2 separate regions of the Homo sapiens genome follow, and region 2 is linked to region 1. Evidence: promoter capture Hi-C in human tissues and cell types (Jung and others, 2019). All regions are on one chromosome and are shown on one strand. The core of a region is centred on a gene start or on the middle of the fragment in contact, and the rest is flanking DNA. Distances in the headings are between cores, read along the strand shown.

The links. Contacts are between HindIII fragments. The study calls those that stand out against the background at their distance.
Region 2: a contact is called between a fragment that was not itself captured here and the fragment with the promoter of LRP1 in region 1, in 1 of the 25 tissues and cell types used here (hippocampus).

The regions. Positions count from the first base shown.
Region 1 is chr12:57,126,571-57,130,197 of GRCh38, forward strand. LRP1 (LDL receptor related protein 1) reads left to right here and starts at 1,913. Exons shown (of 89, transcript NM_002332.3): 1 at 1,913-2,461. The coding sequence starts at 2,395. RefSeq lists an enhancer at 920-1,573. The HindIII fragment of the contact is 3,919 bases long and covers 972-3,627 here.
Region 2 is chr12:56,674,019-56,677,534 of GRCh38, forward strand. All of the region lies in intron 1 of PTGES3 (prostaglandin E synthase 3), which reads right to left. Among named protein-coding and RNA genes, the nearest start is that of PTGES3, 13 kb to the right of the region's middle. The HindIII fragment of the contact is 7,635 bases long and covers 1-3,516 here.

The sequences.
Region 1 (3,627 bases), core at 663-3,162:
GGCCAGGTTTTGGAAAGCCATGACTGAAGAGGAGTTCACATTTGACTGGTCTATAGACACCCACTAGAGGTTCCCCAGCAAGGAAGAGACACCGGGAAAGCAGTTTTTGGAAGATTCACCTGACAGATGGGTAGGGGGAGGGAGGAAAGCCCCTTCAAGCCCTCAGGCTACATGTGGTTGCTCCAGATACCGTTTTCCTCTCAAAGCTGTCAAGCTGTCTAAAGTCTGTTTCGACCTGATTTCACTTGGATCCCAATACTGGGAGGGGCCCTGGGAGGAACCTCGTAGGCATTTGGTGAGTCCGCATAGTGCGTCTCACATTGTGTTGGGCCATGGGAGCTGGATAAAAGGAGAAATAAGACCCCGTTCCTGCCTGGAGCAACTCTCTGGCAGTGGAAATGGAGGAAATCTGAGATATACTTCAGAGGAAAAAAATGACAAGCCTGGAGCACAGGCTGGCAAGATTGGATATAGGAAGGAAAGGCCCCCTTGAGTTGGCATAAAGTCTGAGGTTTCTAGCCCAGGAGACTAAAGGCAGGTGGCCACCGCGCTGAGCAAAGCCGGCTGGAAGAAGCTAAAGGTTGAGCTCACTGTCATTAGGAGGCAAGTCCTTCGTGCTGCTCCTGTTTCTGCCAAGGACAGACTGGAGTGGGGACTTTTCCGTAACTAGAACGTAAAAGGGGGAACAGTCCCTCCTCTCCAGCGTCAATTTTTGGCAGCCGACGTCGTCTGCCCCGCTCCTTGAACTCTGACATGCAGACACCTAGAAAGTCAGACACTAAGGTAACAGCCATAAAACGCCGCCCAGAAGGGGGCAGTGACCAAAAGCACGTTCACTGGCCCCTGGGAACCGCCTGGCGCCTGCCTTCTGCAAAGTATCATTCCCGTGTGGGCTGAGCCTGGGGACAAAGGTCCGGCGCTCAGCAGACACCTCCTTGGAACCCGAGGCCTGGAAACGAAGGTCCAGAGTCCCTCATCTTATTCCAAATCCTGGCGCTCGGAATCTAAAACCCTAACTTGATGGCAAGCCAGTCAGAAGGTATTAAAAAAAAAAAAAAAAAAAAAAACAGAAAAATAAATGAGCCCCGACTTCTTGGGCGAAAGGGGGTGGCCTTTCCTCAACCCCACCCGCTGGTGACTCACCTCCCTCCAAACCAGGGCCTGCCCCTCCCGCGCCTAGGGCTGGGCGAGCAGGGCGGGCGGGTACTAAGGTGGGCTCCATCCCCGAGCCCCACGCGGGCGGACAAGCTCCGGCGTGTCCCCTCGGGTGTCCCTGTTTACTCCGAGCCCGGGAGCGAGGTGGGGGCGGGTCCTCGCGGTCCCTCCCCAACCCCGCCCCCTCCTTCGCAGGCCCCAATCCCAGTCCGGTCTTCCAAAGTCTCCAAATCAAAGCTCAGCCTTTCCCTGCACCTTCCCCGCGGACTGGCGGTCCCTGTCCCCACCCCGGGCAGAGGAGGCACCTTCAGGGTTCCCCTAGAAAATCGAGCCTCGGCCCAGACCACTGAGTCCCGGACGCCCCCGGAGGGAGCCTGAAATCCTAGAGTATGACACTGAGTTTCAAAGGGGAGCCGCTCAGCTCTCCGCCCACTGCCCAATCCCACCCTCGACCCCTTCTGCTCTCTGGAGCACCAGGGAGGAGGGCCCAGCCAGGGGAGAGGGCGCCCCAGGCCCCAAACTAGCCAGCGAGTCCCCGGGACCCTCACTCTTGGACCGCTTTCCAGAACTCCGAACCCTGTCGCGGGTCCGCGTCGCCCTCCCCCGGGCAGCGCGTCAAATCGGCGCATGCGCACTCACTGGATTGCCGCGTAGCTCTTTCTCCCCCCACCCACCAACCTTTTTTCTTTCCCCGCCCCTTCCCTCCCTCCCTCCTCAACCCGTCCCCTCCCTCTCCCCCATCAGCCCCCCCCTCGGCACTTCAGTCCGGGGAACAGCGGTGCGAGCTCCAGGCCCATGCACTGAGGAGGCGGAAACAAGGGGAGCCCCCAGAGCTCCATCAAGCCCCCTCCAAAGGCTCCCCTACCCGGTCCACGCCCCCCACCCCCCCTCCCCGCCTCCTCCCAATTGTGCATTTTTGCAGCCGGAGGCGGCTCCGAGATGGGGCTGTGAGCTTCGCCCGGGGAGGGGGAAAGAGCAGCGAGGAGTGAAGCGGGGGGGTGGGGTGAAGGGTTTGGATTTCGGGGCAGGGGGCGCACCCCCGTCAGCAGGCCCTCCCCAAGGGGCTCGGAACTCTACCTCTTCACCCACGCCCCTGGTGCGCTTTGCCGAAGGAAAGAATAAGAACAGAGAAGGAGGAGGGGGAAAGGAGGAAAAGGGGGACCCCCCAACTGGGGGGGGTGAAGGAGAGAAGTAGCAGGACCAGAGGGGAAGGGGCTGCTGCTTGCATCAGCCCACACCATGCTGACCCCGCCGTTGCTCCTGCTGCTGCCCCTGCTCTCAGCTCTGGTCGCGGCGGCTATCGACGGTGAGTGAGATTCCGCGTCCCCCTTGGACCCCTGGGGGCACCCTCTCCCCAGCCCCCACTCCTGCATACGGATGGGGAAGGGAGACGCGGGAGGGGGTGCCTTTTGTTATCCCAGTCCAGCTGACACAGCAGCGGCCCGACTGGGGGCGGGGATGGGGTCCGATTTGGGGGATGGGGGCCCTGGGCAAATGATGCTTCCGGGGCCCCCCAGCACAAACAAAGACCAGAGGCCTGGGTAGAGAGAAGAGGGCTCCCCATTTTTCTGATCCTGGGGAGGAGAGGCCTTCTTTTCCTATCTCTGTTCGGGGAGGGCCTCCGCCTCCCCTACATCCTCACAACCCCCCACCCCCCATCTGAATTGTGAAGGAATCCGGATTTGCAATGTTCGGCTGCAAAAGGGGGTGGGGGTGGGGGGGGTGGCTTTTGCACTGGCCTCTGTAGCTCGAAAGGGGAGCCAGGCCAGGGGTACCCTGCCGGGCAGAGGGCAGGCAGGCCCGGGAAGGCTGTGGGTGGGGAGAGGGAGGGCCCCCTGCTTGGGCGTGGAATCGACCCCAGAGCCCCGGCTGGAGGCCTGGGTGCTGAAGTAGGCTCTTCCCCCTCTCAGGGCCTCTGTCAGTAGCCTGGGGTAGGGCTGTGTTGGGGGGCAGAGAGGGGGAGCTCGCCATACTATGTGACTTTGAATTTTCCTTCTTAATTCCTGGGAGCTTTGAGATGAAAAAACGTCAGATGTCATCACTGGGGAAGGGGACTGGAGAATGGCCTGGAATGCTGGGGTAGGAGGGTGGGGGAGGCTGCCTTCTTCCTGACTTCTGGCTTCATCACAGTTTGGATTGGAAGGAGAGTTGGAGGTTGGATGGGGATTATGGCTGTGCCCCCACACTCCTTTAGTAAATCTGTTTATTCCCTGCACCCCTCCAAGCCCAAAACCCCATACACACACACTTTGTATATTGCAGAGTTAGGCTTAGGCTAGAACTGCATCCTTTTGGGGAAATGGGGTGCCTCTCTTCCCTTTTTTTGTCAGCTGTTTTTTTCTCCTACTTGTGAGTCACTGGTTCAAGTCTTGCCCAAGCTTTAAGCATTAAGCTGGGGTCATGGGGTTGGGCTGGGCTAGGTCCCTGATTTGAGAAGGGGTGGGATCTCATCCCCTCCTGTCATCTTAGCCC
Region 2 (3,516 bases), core at 766-3,265, 450 kb before region 1:
TAAGTTCACTGAAACCAGGAGAATCAATCTCCTTTCCTCAAATTCAGCAATCTAGAATTTTATCAGTTTCCTCAAAATTAATACATTGAAGTCCTAACCCCCAGTACATCTTAAGAATGGGATTGTATTTGGAGAAAGTGTCTTTAAATGACAAGTAAATATGAGGTCTTAGGATAGACCCTAATCCAATGACTGTTGTCCTCCTATATAAAGAGATTAGCACAGAGGGAAGAAAGAAGATAGCTATCTGCAAACCAAGGAAAGGCCTCAGAAGAAACTAATCCTGCTGACACCTTCGCCTTGGATTTTCAGCCTCGTGGAAATGTGAAGAAATAAATTTCTGCTGTTTAAGCCACCCAGTGTGTGATACTTTCTTATGAAAGCCTTAGCAGGCCAGGCGCGGTGGCTCACGCCTGTAATCCCAGCACTTTGGGAGGCGAGGCAGGTGGATCACCTGAGGTCGAGAATTCGAGACCAGCCTGACCAACACGGAGAAACTCGTCTCTGCTAAAATTACAAAAAATTCAGGCGGGCACAGTGGCTCACGCCCATAATCCCAGCACTTTGGGAGGCCGAGGCAGGAGGATCACAATGTCAGGAGATTGAGACCATCCTGGCTAACACGATGAAACCCTGTCTCTACTAAAAATACAAAAAATTAGCCAGGCATGGTGGTAGGCGCCTGTAGTCCCAGCTACTCGGGAGGCTGAGACAGGAGAATGGCATGAACCCAGGAGGCGGAGCTTGCAGTGAGCTGAGATCAGGCCACCGCACCCCAGCCTGGGCAACAGAGCAAGACTCCATCTCAAAAAAAAAAAAAAAAAAAAAAAAAAAAATTCGCCAGGCGTGGTGGTGCATGCCTGTAATCTCAGCTACTCAGGAGGCTGAGTCAGGAGAATCGCTTGAACCTGGGAAGTGGAGGTTACGGTGAGCCGAGATCAGGCCATTGCACTCCAGCCTGGGCAACAAGAGTGAAACTCGGTCTCAAAAAAAAAAAAAAAAAAAAAAAGTGCTGGTTCACACCTGTAATCCCAGCACTTTGGGAGGCAGAGGCAGGCGGATCACGAGGTCAGGAGTTCGAGACCAGCCTGGCCAATATAGTAAAACCCCGTCTCTACTAAAATTGCAAAAATTAGCTGGGCGTGGTGGCACGTACCTGTAGTCCCAGCTATTTGGGAGACTGAGCCAGGCCAATCAGTTGAACCCAGGAGGTAGAGGTTGCAGCGAGCCAAGATCACGCCACTGCACTCTAGTCTGGGTGACAGAGCAAGACTCTGTCTCAAAAAAGAAAAAGAAAAAGAAAAAGAAAAAAAGCCTTAGCAAGCTATATGATCATGTCCCAGATAAAACAAATTTAAATTATCAAAACCTGTGGTTAGGCCATGAACCAAAAATGATTCCTACATTTTTTAAATGTATATTTTTAAAAAAACACAGGAGGCGGAAGTTGCAGTGAGCCAAGATCACACTACTGCACTCTAGCCTAGGCAACAGAATGAGACCAAAAAAAAAAAAAAAAAAAATGTGAATGAGATAAGAGATATTTGTGGCCTGCAAAGCTGAATATTTACTGGCTGACCCTTTATACAAGTTGGCTAACACATTAAAACTACAAACAGGGCCGAGTGCGGTGGCTCACGCCTGTAATCTCCAGCACTTTGGGAGGCTGAGATGGGTGCATCACCTAAGGTCAGGAGTTCAGAGACCAGCCTGGCAAACATTATGAAACCCCATCTCTACTAAAAATACAAAAAATTAGCTGGGTGTGGTGATGGGCACCTGTAATCCCAGCTACTCAGGATGCTGCAGCAGGAGAATCGCTTGAAATAAGGAGGTGGAGGTTGCAGTGAGCCCAGACCACGCCATTGCACTCCAGCCTGGACAACAGCGTGAAACTCCGTCTCAAAACACAACACAAAAACTGCAGACCAGGCGCAGTGACTCAAGCCCATGATCCCAGCACTTTGTGAGGCCAAGGCTGATGGATCACCTGGGGCTGGGAGTTTGAGACCAGTCTGACCAACGTGGAGAAACCCCGTCTCTACTAAAAATACAAAATTAGCCAGGCGAGGTGGCGTATGCCTGTAATACCAGCTATTTGGGAGGCTGGGAGGGGGAGGGGGAGGGGGAGGTGGAGGTGGAGGTTGCGGTAAGCCGAGATCACGCCACTGCACTACAGCCTGGGCAACAGAGAGAGGCTGTGTCTCCCCCCCCAAAAAAAAAAAAAAAGCCAAAATAGGATTGGAACCCAGCATTTCTGACAGAAGGCTTATTTTTTTTCACTTCACAAAAAGGGACAATAATTTCTCCAGCGGTCCTTTTATTGCAAAGTAACTAACCATGTCTCTGTACTTCCAGTTTGTTTTATTATATAATCTAAACTAGCTTCTGCATACTTGACAACATGATAATGGAGTCCTGAGAGTCTAAAATTTGTTATGGAGGCAGTGAGAGAGTGATATTTGACCTTGAGTCTTTCTTGAACAAAGAAAAATTCTTTTATCTCCTGGGGATGTTAAAAGAAGAATGCTTCAGGGTCTAAAACCAAAGCAAGAAAGTAATTTTTTTAAAAAAAGAGTGCTCAAAAGACGGAATGTGGAAAGCCACAAGAGTTGCTTGATAGAAAAGTGCTAAGTGGGTATGCGTGGTGGTTCATGCCTATAATCCCAGCACTTTGGGAGGCCAAGGCAGGTAAATCACTTGAAGTCAGCCTGGACAACATGGTGAAACCCCATCGCTACTAAAAATACAAAAATTAGACAGGCATGGTGGCGCGCTCCTATAGTCCCAGCTACTTGGGAGGCTGAAGCACAAGAATCCTTGAACCCGGTGGTGGAGGTTGCAGTGAGCTGAGATCGTGCCACTGCACTGCAGCCTGGGTGAGAGAGTGAGATTCCGACTCAAAAAAAAAAAAAAAAAAAAAAAAAATAGTGCTGGCTAAGTGCGGTGGCTTATGGCAGTAATCTCAGCACTTTGGGAGGCTGAGGTGAGCAGGTCACCTGATGTCAGGAGTTCAAGACCAGCCTGGCCAACCACCGTGGTGAAATCCCGTCTCTACTAAAAATGTAAAAATTAGCTGGGCATGGTGGTGCACACCTGTGATCCCAGCTACTAGGATGGCTGAGGCGGGAGAATTGCTTGAACATGAAAGGCAGAGGTTGCAGTAAGCCAGATAGCGCCACTGCACTCTAGCCTGGGCGACAGAGTGAGACTCCTTCTCCGCACCACCCAAAAAAAAAAAAAAAAGTGCTACATTTTCCATAAAACATTACCTTGAACAGCTTTCACCTTTGTATCTTAGAGTGGAAACTACCACATAAAATAACTCGCTAGGACAGAGGTTCACAAGCCTTCCTGGTATATAGTGCCCTTGGTGTCTGAGGAGTTTTGTTGTGCTCTTAAGCCAAAAGGAGTAACTAGCAGTTGCTTTGATGACATAGCTGTATCCAAGCAACATAACTATATTGTCTTAGCAGCCTAGTAGCTATTGGAAAAACGAATTTACATTATTGGAAA